Regions from separate parts of the Homo sapiens genome. Here region 1 is linked to region 2. Evidence: promoter capture Hi-C in 16 types of primary human blood cells and fetal thymus (Javierre and others, 2016). All regions are on one chromosome and are shown on one strand. Each heading gives the region's core, a stretch centred on a gene start or on the middle of the fragment in contact. The rest is flanking DNA. Distances are from core to core; before and after follow the strand shown. Region 1 overlaps CCNT2 (cyclin T2). Region 2 holds the start of MCM6 (minichromosome maintenance complex component 6).

Region 1 (6,278 bases), core at 1,886-4,385, 930 kb after region 2:
CACCGCTGCTGCTGCCACTATGCGAGTGGGAATGCTTGTGGCTGCTGGTGTGGTGGCGGCTTGAAGGATGCTCCTTGTGCTTCTCCTTATGGTCTCTGCTAATATGTGGGCTTGAATGTTTGCTCTTCCCACTGCCTTCATCAGAAGAGCTGTGTCTTTCTGAAGAAGAAACTTTTATTTTCATTTTCAGTTCTTCTTTACTGGCGCTTTTATCAGTGGGTGGTATTGGAATCCGTAATTTCAGTGACCCACTCTTTTCCTTTTTGTCTGCCATGTATTTTTCAGTATTTGCGATAGGTATTTTCATTTTAATGGGAGAAGTAACAGAACTGCTGCTGGCTGCCTGTGACTGCCCTTGTTTGTGCTGCTGTTCTACCTGGGCAGCTATATAATGATCCCTTACATCGAGATCAAGAGTTTCTAGTTTACGCTTTTCTCTATATTTATCTAAAGACATTTTCTGAGGAATTATTCCTGGAGTAGTGGAAATTGGCCCATGGTGTTTACTGCTCCCTGCTTTATGAGTATATTCTTGCTTAACAGAAGAATGATCTGAAATTTTGTCAGGTCTGTGATGTAATCCTGAATGCAGTGATATAGAAGGTCCCTGCTGGAAGTTGATGTTGTACTGGCTACCAGACAAAGATGTCTCCTGTTTCTGTGAATATAGCTGTTCTGTCCTTGCTGAGTCTTGATGTTGAGGCCATTCCTGGTGTGATGATAAACCGTATGAAGTACTTGGCATTCCTGTTGCTAGCATTGACAAATTATCAGATGTATGGCTGTCTTGAACAGAAATATTTCCTGAATTTAGAGGTACTGGCGCAGGGAATGCTGATGTAGATGGTTTCTGAAAACTTGGGTTTGTAGGCACACCAGTGACACTATCTACTAAAATGGAATTCTGGACCAAAGATGAACCAAGAAGTGGTGTCTCTGATACCTGTCCATCTACTTTTGGTTTCCTAGCTGCCTGATTAGCCTATTAAAATAAAACACAGAAGAAGCAGTGATATAGCAAAATAATTTAATGCAAATTTCTTGTCTTATAAAAGTTATATATTAAAAACATTATATATTAAACATATGGAAATAAAATGACCTGGGGTTCAAGATTTTATGTTGTCAGTAAATAAATGCCTTAGAGGCATAAAAGGCTATAAAAAATTGAAAACACCCATTTTAGAATCAGATACAAGTTAAATCCTAGCCCAGCACTTCAGAAAGTAATTTAACTTGTCTAGGCTTCAGTTTCCCCATTTGTAAAATGAAGAGGATACTTTTGTCATAATCACTGCAAAAAATTTTTTAAAAGTATAATGTACTTTAGCAAAGTCCACTGGACTCAGTAGTTGAATATGTGAGTATATGTAACTTGAGATACGTTGAATTATTCAGGAATACTGCAAAGATTATTTAACCACAAAAATTCAAACTGGTTAGCTATGTAAATGTTACATAAAAGACTGAAATTCTGTTAAACCCTGTCAATTCTCTTACCCTCCAGTTTCGAATCTTCTTCAACCTATTAGGCGTTTTCTCCAATATTTGTAGAAACTCATGTGTTAGCTCTAAAAATAAAATTTAAATTTGAAACTTAGAAGGTGCCTTTAGGATTTAAATTTCTCTTAAGTGGGCAGTATTAAAAAGGAATGCTAGGAGTTCATCTACTTCACTTTTACCCTCCTATTAAATCCTCAGCATACACAGAAGTACACACAACTCTCAACCGGCATTTTCAAAGCTGAATCCTTTTGTAACGATTACTTTCCCTCTTGATTTTACTTGCTTAATTAGAATCTCTAGAAAATCTAGTAGCATTAAAAATAATCACCCCCCCAATAAAAAAAAAATCTTCATTAGGCAAACACCACAATAATTTTTGTCACAGACAAGATCTATCAAAAGATTCTTTAAAATTAGTGGACAAAAGTTTGAGGAAAAACGTTATTTGTATAATCCCAACGTATCTTCCCCATGAAATGTATTAATTACAAAGAGAAAAAAAATAGTGACTTTAAAGTGCAGAAACCACTTTAAGGATACCACTGTAACCAAGTGATCACGGTTGTCATGACCAGTTATAAGACGTATCAACATACTGTACCCCTTGATATGATGCACCAAGCAAGACCCAATTTACTTCTATGGTATTCTTGCTCAAAATGGATAACTTCGACATAATAATGAGAAATCATCAGACAAACCCCAACTAAGGAACACTGTATAAAATGACCATTATTCTCCTAAGTGTCAGTGTTATGAAAGACAAGGAAAGATTGGAGAACTGTCACAGACTGGAGAAGACTTGAAGGGACATGTCAACTAAATGGAACATGGGATCCTAGAATAGGGAAAAATATGGAATACTGAATAACATCTGTGGTTTAGTTAACAGTATTGTACCAATGTTAACTTCCTAGTTTTGATAATCATATATTGTTATGTAAGATGTTAGTACCAGGAGAAGCTAAAGGGTATACAGGGAACTATGCAATATTTTGCATTTCTTTCTTTCTTTTTTTTGTTAAATAACAGAGACAGGGTCTCGCTATGTTGACCAGGCTGGTCTCAAACTCCTGGCCTCAAGTGATCCTCCTATCTTGGCCTCCCAAAGTGCTGGAATTACAGGTGTGAGCCACCACACCCAGACTTTTTTTTTAAAGGGGAAAATTCCTCCAAATATACTTCCTAGCTATCAACACTATTAATATATTAGCAAACTATCTTCATTGTAAATTTCTACCAACTTTCTTAAAATTCTGATTACAATCAAATGACCCACTTTTCCAAAGTAGTGTGGTTTTGATGAACTAATAATGTCATTAATAGTTACTAGCCACTCTCAAATATTCATCAGTCAAATACATCAGAATATTATATAATATTAATAATGCCAATTCCACCTCAATACTGGGGGAACCTCTATTAATAGAGACTACAGGTTCATTTTGTAATAGCAAGCTTTTTTGTAAACTATTCTAAGCCAATGTTAAGATCGACACTTCAGACAAGCTATAATTTAACCATTAATCTTTCAAGATGTAATTTCCTTGACAATGTCATGACTAGTCCCTGCTAAAGTCTCATGAGCTTTTTCATCCAGTTTGGATGAAAAAAACCCTAATGCCCAGACCTTTACTTCCTCATTTGAAAAAAAAAGAAAAAAAAAAAGACTATTTTTCTACTTTTGGGTCCAACATTAACAAAACTGTTTTGACTCAATTTCTGTTAACAACTTGGTTGTAAAACATTAAATACACTTCAAGTTCTGGTCCAAAATCTCGTACACAAAATGTAAGCTTTGTTTTTCTTAAGTATCCTACTGTATTAAATTTTATAGCAGAACAACAAAAGAATCTGTTAAATAATCCATTAACATAATTAATTAGCTATATGCACAAAAATCACAGTATGTGCCTAAAATAGAGGCCCTTCTCTCTCAAAGCTACTGTCTAAGCCAATGTTCTTTTCTGGAACACAATCATTAAGTGAATTATTTCAGTAAGTAATAAGAATAGTAGTATCACTTCACTCTACAATTCAGATAAATCTTCATGTCTTTTTTTTTCCCCCCAGACAGGGTTTCCTCTGTTGCCCAGGCTGGAGAGCAGTAGCATTATCACAGCTCACTACAACCTTGACGTCTCAGGCTCAGGTGATCCTCCCACCTTAGCCTCCACAGTAGTTGGGTCTATAGGAGTGCGCCACCATGCCCGGTTTGTGTGTATTTTTAGTAGAAACGTGGTTTTGCCATGTTGCTCAGGCTGGGCTCAAACTCCTGTGCTCAAGATATGTGAGTGACTGCACCCGGCCACACCTTCATGTCTTTAATTTTGAATTGCCTTTTTGTGACTGACACAGAAAAAAAAGCTGCTGCAAAACATGGTGAAAGTCTTAACATATCAGTTCTCCAAGATTCCTATTCAATTGCTCTCCAAATTAACAAACTTTACTTTTCAGAATGGAAATGAGGTAGCTCCTCCTGTGTCAAAAAACCCCACATAAACCACAACCTAACCTCTGACCTAAAGACAGGATAAAAGGCAGATTACTTTTCTGTGATCTTTTTACTTCAGCACCAGGTATATAAACTATTTTTATTACGATTATGCCTACTGGCTGGGTGTGGTGGTTCACGCCTGTAATCCTAACACTTTGAGGCCAAGGTGGGTGGATCATGAGGTCAGGAGTTCAAGACCAGCCTGGCCAACATGGTGAAAACCCTATCTCTACTAAAAATACAAAAATTAGCCAGGCGTGGTGGCAGGCACCTGTAATCCCAGCTACTCAGGAGGCTGAGGCAGAGAACTGCTTGAACCCGGGAGGCGGAGGGTGCAGCGAGCCGAGATTGCGCCACCGCACTCTATAGCCTGGGCGACTGAGACTCTGTCCCCCACCCCCCCCCCGAAAAAAAAATTTTGCCTACCTAATCTTAATCTAGTGACTATTAAACTAAAACAATGACCTAGATAACCTGATTTTTCAAGCTATAGAACAGATAAGCCCTCACTGAGTTTTAGATGTCATTTCAACTCATTGAAGACTTCCTTTCCTCTGGATAAACTCTGAAAAAGCCTCTAACAATTTAAGAAAAACATTATAATCATGCAGCAATAATACAGCATGAGATATATATTCTGGGATAATTTTTTCCAGGTGGAAAACAAAATAGAAAAGGATGAAACAAAGAAGCATATTTCACAAATAAGAACAGGCAAACTATGGATAATTGGCCAAATATGGCTGGCCACCTATTTTTGTCAACAAAAGTTTTACTGGAACACAGTCACACCCAATCAGTTACAAATTGCCTATGGCTGCTTTCTGGCTGCAATGGTATAGTTGTATAGTTGCAACAGAGACCTTATAGTTCACAAACTCTAAAATAGTGTTACTCTTTGCAGACCCCTATCTTAAAGAAACATCAGGTGGGGCACAGAGGCTCAAACCTGTAATCCCAGCCCTTTGGGAGGCTAAGACAGGTGGACTGCAAAACCCCATCTCTACTAAAAATACAAAACTTAGCTGGGCGTGGTGGCATGCGCCTATGGTCCCAGCTCCTCAGGAGGCTGAGGCAGGAGAATCGCTTGAACCTGGGAGGCAGAGGTTGCAGTGAGCCCAGGTTGCACCACTGCGCTCCAGCTTGGGGGGCAGAGTGAGTATCTGTCTCAAAAAACAAAACAACACAAAACAAGGCCAGGCACAGTGGCTCAAGCCTGTAATCCCAGCACTTTGGGAGGACAAGGTGGGCAGATCATCTGAGGTGAGGAGTTTGAGACCAGCCTGGCCAACATGGTGAAACCCCATCTCTACTAAAAACACAAAAACTAGTTGGGTGTGGTGGCTCGTGCCTGCAGTCCCAGCGACTTGGGAGGCTGAGGCAGGAGAATTGCTTGAACTCGGGAGGTGGAGGTTGCGGTGAGCCAAGATTGCACCACTGCACTCCAGCCTTGGCGACAGAGTGAGACTGACTCAAAAAAAAAAAAAAGTGTTATCTATTTTCTTGCTGAAATCTACAGTACGTGGTTAAAATGCCCTAATCCCAAGAATCTCCCATTTCTGGCCGGCTTCTTTTACTTCTCAACCAGAGGAATTTCTCATCAAAACATCCCCAAAATTCCACGTTCCTAATTAACAGAACACACACCCACAATTTCTCCTTGTGTATTCATATTTAACAATGTAAGGCAACAATGGTAATACAGAGCAAGAAACACAATCCCCTGAAAATCCCTTTCGTTTACTGCTTCACAGTTAACACTCAACTTTCAGTATACACATTTAAAACTCAACAGAATTAGTATACTTTAAATCACTATTCTTATCTTGTCAGCTTATGGAATTCTAAACCTTACTTATTTATTTTTTAAGTCCTGAAAAAGCTTTAGATATTTGGTGGTAGTTAATATATACCCAGGCTGGAGTAGAGCAGTGCCTTCAAGGCTTACCGCAGCCCTGACTTCCCGTGCTCAAGTGATCATCCCGCCTCAGCCTCCCAAGTAGCTGAGACTATAGGCACGCACCACCACACCCAGTCAATTTTTAACTTTTTTTTTGTAGAGACAGGGTCTATGTTGCCCAGCCTGGTCTTGAACTCCTGGGCTCAAGTGATCCTCCTGCCTCAGCCTCCTACAGTGCTGGGATTACAGGTATGAGCACAGCTTCCAGACTCTATTTTTTTTTCTTTAGGCTGATGAATTGTTGTTTTCATTCTGTTCATCTGATAGTGTACTGACACTTTCTATTGTCAATTCAGACAACTGCCAACTTAGATA
Region 2 (6,118 bases), core at 3,382-5,881:
CAGGAAAAAGAACCCTTATGTTTTAGAAAATCATTCTGAAATATCTACAAATGAAAAGATACAATGTTTTGCTTCAAAATCATAAGGTAATGGTAAGAAACCGTATACTTTACCTCTGTGATCATCCTTCCCTAACCCATAATCACTGTCTAATCATGAGAAAAACGTTAGACAAATCCCAACTGAGAGACATTGGCATTAAAACTATGGAAAGTCTGAGAAGCTGTTACAAACCAGAAGAGTCTAAGAAGACATGACCACTAAGTGTAATGTGGCATCAGGATGAGATCTGGGAAGAGAAAAAGAACAGTAGGGAAAAACTGGTGAAATCTGAATAAATTGTGCAATATTAGTTAATACTAACATACTAAAGTTGGTTCCTGAGTTGTAATAAATGTATTATAAGAGTGTAAGATATTCACAGTAAAGGAAAATAGGCAAGGTGTATTTGAAAATTCTGTACTATCTTTTGCAACTTTTGGTAAATCCAAAGCTATTCTAAAATAATTTTTTAAAAAGAATCATGGATGGCTGGGCATGGTGTCTCACACCTGTAATCCCAGTACTTTGGGAGGATTGCCCAAACCCAGGAGTTCAAGACTGACCTGGGTGACATGAGGAAATCTTGTCTCTTCAAAAAATATAAAAATTAGCCAGGCATGGTGGTGCACATCGTGGGAGGCTGACGTGGGAGGATCACTTGAGCCCAGGAGGTCATGGCTGCAGTGAGCCATGATTGTGTCACTGCACTCCAGCCTGGGTGACACAGCAAGACCCTGTCTCAAAAAAAAAAAAAAAAAAGGCCCCAGTGTGGTGGCTCACACCTGTGATCCCAGCACTTTGGGAGGCCAAGGCAAGAGGATCGCTTGAGCCCAGGAGTTCGAGGCCAGCCTGGGCAACACAGCCAAACCTCGTCTCTACAAAAAATACAAAAATTAGCCAGGCGTGGTGGCATGTACCTACTTGGAAGGCTGAGGCAGGAGGATCGCTTGATCCCAAGAAGTCGAGGCTGCAATGAGCCGTGATTGTGTCACTGCACTCCCGCCTGAGTGACACAGCAAGACCCTGTCTTTAAAAAAAAAAAAAAAAAAATTTTAGACTTCCAGGTATTCAGCATAAATCACATTGTACAGTTTAGGTACAATGAGCCATCATTATCAAGGGATAGTGTTATATCGATGTAGAGAATTATTTACCAGTCAAGTTCCCAATGCCAGCCAAAGGCCAATCTTGTGAACAGGACTTTCTAAGGATAGCAAGCAGGCCTGGGCACCAGTGCACACACATAGCATACAACTTTCTGGGGTGTGACAGAGATATTTCATAATTCATACCCTCCTCCTGTTGTGGAAGTTATCCCTACAAACCTCACTTACAGACATCATCTACTATTCTGATTCAGAGATACATGTCTGAAGGAGGAAGGGAACACCTGTGAGATATGGAGAGCTGAGAAGAGGAAGCCTTGAGTTTCTCAATGAGCATAGCTGAAAATCAGCCCGGAGCTCTGCACTATCATTTTTGTTTTTTTCCTTCTGTACATGGGACTTTAGTTCTGAGAAATCTATCCTGAGGATAGAAGAGGAAGAGAAGGGAGAAGAAGAAAAATGAGAAAGAAAAGAGTGAGGCCTTTTGAGAGGATGGAATAGAATCAGGTTAGCTCAATCGGGTTGTGAATATCCAGGAAGCACTGTTGAGTTCAAGCTTCCTAAAATATGTACAAGTGGTGATGTCCGGTAGGCAGGCAGACTCTAGAGCTGGTAAAGGGCTGTAGGACACAGAGCCTCAAGTGTTCATTTTCTTTTCTTTTCTACTTTTTTTGAGACAGAGTCTTGCTCTGTCGCCAAGGTTGGAGTGCAGTGGTGCGATCTCGGCTCACTGCAACCTCTGCCTCCTGGGTTCAAGCAATTCTCTGCCTCAGCCTCCTGAGTAGCTGGGACTACAGGCACCGACCACCACGCCCGGCTAATTTCTGTATTTTTAGTAGAGATGGGGTTTCACCATATTGGCCAGGCTGGTCTGGAGCTCCTGACCTCAAGTGATCCACCCACCTTGGCCTCCCAAAGTTCTAGGATTACAGGCATGAGCCACCGCGCCCGGCTGAGTGTTCATTTTCGGGTTTTTTTTTTTTTTTTTTTTTTTTTTTTGAGAAGGAGTCTCACTCTGTCGCCCAGGCTGGAGTGCAGTGGCACGATCTCGGCTCACTACAAGCTCCGCCTCCCAAGTTCAGGCCATTCTCCTGCCTCAGCTTTCCGAGTAGCTGGGACTACAGGCGCCCCCCACCATGCCTGGCTAATTTTTTTGTATTTTTAGTAGAGATGGGGTTTCGCCGTGTTAACCAGGATGGTCTTGATCTCCTGACCTCGTGATCCGCTCATCTCGGCCTCCCAAGGTGCTGGGATTACAGGCGTGAGCCACCGTGCCCGGCCGAGTGTTCATTTTCAAATGAGGTAATACATACGATTACAGATACACTGCAACACGCCAGCATTGAGCTTTTTTGTTAAACTCTGTAAATATCTTGTGAATAGTGTATTTGTACGTATGTTAAAATAATTACTTGAGCTTCTGTCCACTCTGTTTGGCATTTTAAAATCTTTTCAGGCCGGGCGCGGTAGCTCACGCCTGTAATCCTAGCACTTTGGGAGGCCGAGGTGGGCGAATTGCCTGAGCTCAGGAGTTTGAGACCAGCCTGGGCAACATGGTGAAACCCCGTCTATACTAACATACAAAAACAAAAAAACAAAAACAAAAAAAATCAGCCGGGCGTGGCGGTGTGCGCCTGTAGTCCCAGCTACTCAGGAGGCTGAGGCAGAAGAATTGCTTGAACCTGGGAGGCAGAGGCTGCAGTGATCCGAGATCCTGCCACTGCACTCCAGCCTAATGACAGAGCGAGACTCTGTCTCCAAAAAAAAAAGAAAGAAAGAAAGAAAGAAAAGAAAGAAAAAAAAGAAAAAGAAAAAATTTTTCAATAAGTTGGATTTGGTGGTGGCAGGAAATCCCAGCTACTCGGGAGGCGGATGCAGGCAGATTGCTGGAGACCAGGTGTTCAAGGTCAGCCTGCACAACATAGTAAGACCTCGTCTCAAAAAAAGAAAAGAAAGAAAAAATATTTTTAATATGCAACAAGCCTCAAAAAATGGAAGTGGTCCCCGTTTCTCTTAATGTCTTGGAGGCCAAAAAAAGGTACTGGTTGGTGAAATACACATATAGATATCATCAGTACCCAGATGTTAATTAACGCCAAGGGAGTGTAAAGGGTCGCCCAAGAGAGCGACTTTACGGGAAAAGAAGGCTCTGGAACCAGAACATTTAAAAGACTCACTGAAGGAGAGGCGCCTACAAAGGATGCTAATCAGGAATGGCCAAAGAGATGGCAGAAAAACCAAGTGAAATGGTTAGGGAAAGATGGGGGAAAAAAACATAAGGATAACTCAAGCCAATAGTGCATTTTAAGAAGGGTATTAAGGCCGGGCGCTGTGGCTCACGGCCGTAATCCCAGCGCTTTGGGAGGTCGAGGCAGACGGATCACCTGAGGTCAGGAGTTTGAGAGCAGCCTGGCCAACATGGCGAAAACCCTGTCTCTACTAAAAATACAAAAATTGGCTGGGCATGGTAGCGGGCGCCTACAATCCCAGCTATTCAGGAGGCTGAGGCAGGAGAATCCCCTGGACCCGGGAGCTGGAGGTTGCAGTGACCCGAGATCGCGCCACTGCTCTCGAGCCTGAGCGACTGGGTGAGACTTCATCTGAAAAAAAAAAGAAAAGAAAAAGAAAAAAAGATTAATCAAAGTGTCAAATATTTCTTTCTTTTTCTTTTTCTTTCTTTTTTTTTTTTTTTTTTTTGAGACGGAGTCACACTGTGTTGCCCAGGCTGGAGTGCAGTGACACGATCTCGGCCCACTGCAACCTCCTCCTCCCAGGTTCAAGCGATTCTCCTGCCTCGGCCACCCGAGTAGCTGGGATTACAGGCGTGCACCACCACGCCCGACTAATTTTTGTATTTTTAGGGGAGATGGGGTTTCTGCATGTTGGCCAGGGTGGTCTCGAACTCCTGACCTCAGGTGATCCACACGCCTCGGCCTCCCAAAGTGCTAGGATTACAGGTTGTGAGCCACCGCGCCCGGCCAATGTCAAATATTTCGCTGATTTTCCTCGGTCAGCACCACCACAATAATTGTGCCACCTTACCCATGCAAGGTTTAGACATCTCTTTGACTCTTTTACAGGGTTTTATACTGTGGTTTCCATTATTTCCTCTAACTAGACAGCAGAAGCGGCTTACTCATTTTTCTCTTCCATAGAGTCTTACTCCGATCGTTCAATTAATATCAGTGGAATGATTTAAAGAACATTTGAAAAACCACTCGGACAAAACCCTCAGATTCGAACTTGTTCCAGCAGCCAAAAATACCCGCGGGCCACGGCTACACTGCGCAGGCGCAAAGGCAGATGGGCTTTCTCCAGAAGGGCTTTGCATTTGGCGCGAAATCCCTTTCCGTGGGCTGGGGCTCTTGGAGAGGCGCCGTTCATTGGTCAGGTTTGGCGCGAAATCTCCAGCTCCTGTGTCACGATTGGTTCCGGCCGTGCAGGTCGGAAGAGGGGGCGGGGCGGAAGCGGCGGCGGCGCGCGCAAAGCTGCAGCGTCTGGAAAAAAGCGACTTGTGGCGGTCGAGCGTGGCGCAGGCGAATCCTCGGCACTAAGCAAATATGGACCTCGCGGCGGCAGCGGAGCCGGGCGCCGGCAGCCAGCACCTGGAGGTCCGCGACGAGGTGGCCGAGAAGTGCCAGAAACTGTTCCTGGACTTCTTGGAGGAGTAAGTCGGCGAGCGCCCCGGGCCTCGCCCGCCTCCGGAGCCTGCGGCGTCTGGGCCAGGCGGTGCCGTGTGGGCGGCGGGTGTTCCGGAACCTGGGGGTCGCGCGTCCGGGAAGCGCCTCCCCGCCCGCCCCCCAACTTTAGGCTCCGAGCCCGGCGGCCGCGAGGAGCCTGGGACAGGCTGGGTTTTTCTGGAGTAAAACCCATCTCGAGCCCTAAGACGCTCGTGCCCAGTGCTCAGCGCTTTGCTTCTGTCACTTGATGCTCACCACCCCGCGAGCCTGGTATTTGCACAGCCCTCGGTGACCGGCGCGGAAACCTGGGCTCGCTGAGTATAGTAACTGGGCCGCTGGGTGCGGCCAGGTCGAGTGGGAGGCCGAAGTGCCATTGAATCTCGTCGGTGCCCTGCTGGGCCACGCAGCCGGGAGCATGGTGCTGGGGGTTCGCAGGGCACGGGCCACCCTCGCCTCTTGTGCTGATGAAAGTTTCTGCGTCAACTGTGGTTTGAAAGCTGCTGGGGGGCGGAGCCCTGCCCTGCAGAGAGTAGCTCACCATATCCCTTCTTCTGGGTCCCTTGCTCCCCTTTCCCTCTGGCCTTCCTTTCCTTTCTCTACTCTTCTTTTTTTCTGTGCCTCTGGGCTCCTAGCTTCATAACCCCAACCTCCTCCCTGGCTTGCCTCACCCACCGGTTATTTTTCCTGGAGCAGATACACCACGGCCTCCAGGATGAAGGGTCAGCAGTTTGGAATGGCTTTTGAAGTTCTTTTTTAGTAAAATATACATAACAAAGTTGACCATTTTAGCCATTTTTAAGTGTAGAGTCCAGTGGCACTAAGTGCATTCACCTCGTTGTGCAGCCGTCACCACTCTCCCATCTCCAAACTTTTTTTTTTTTGAGGCGTAATTTAGCCCTTGTTGCCCAGGCCGGAGTGCAGTGTCACCATCTCAGCTCACCGCAACCTCCGTCTCCCGGGTTCAAGCTATTCTCCTGCCTCAGCCTCCCTACTAGCTGGAATTACAGGCATGCGCCACCACGCCCGGCTAATTTGGTATTTTAGTAGAGATGGGGTTTCTCCATGTTGGTCAGGCTGGTCTTGAACTCCCGACCTCAGGTGATCCCCCCGCCTGGGCTTCCCAAAGTGATTACAGGCGTGAGCCACCGTGTCCGGCTCCAAACTCTTTTCATCTTCCAAACTGACATTCTGTGCCCATTAAACACGAACTCTCCTCCGTTACCCTCTCCCTCAGCCACCGTCACCCACCACTCTGCTTCCTTTCATTATGAGTTTGACCACTCTAGGTAC

What was found. The method cuts DNA at HindIII sites, captures the fragments that hold promoters and counts their contacts. A CHiCAGO score of 5 or more calls a contact.
Region 1: a contact is called between a fragment that was not itself captured here and the fragment with the promoter of MCM6 in region 2, in 2 of 17 cell types (fetal thymus and erythroblasts). The highest score is 6.6, in fetal thymus.

What each region holds. Positions count from the first base shown.
Region 1 is chr2:134,947,934-134,954,211 of GRCh38, reverse strand. CCNT2 (cyclin T2) reads right to left here. Exons shown (of 9, transcript NM_058241.3): 8 at 1,501-1,571; 9 at 1-982. Among named protein-coding and RNA genes, the nearest start is that of CCNT2, 32 kb to the right of the region's middle. The HindIII fragment of the contact is 338 bases long and covers 2,967-3,304 here.
Region 2 is chr2:135,874,956-135,881,073 of GRCh38, reverse strand. MCM6 (minichromosome maintenance complex component 6) reads left to right here and starts at 4,631. Exons shown (of 17, transcript NM_005915.6): 1 at 4,631-4,815. The coding sequence starts at 4,709. RefSeq lists enhancers at 4,357-4,416, 5,107-5,236, 5,006-5,541 and a silencer at 4,877-5,036. The HindIII fragment of the contact is 12,304 bases long and covers 1,707-6,118 here.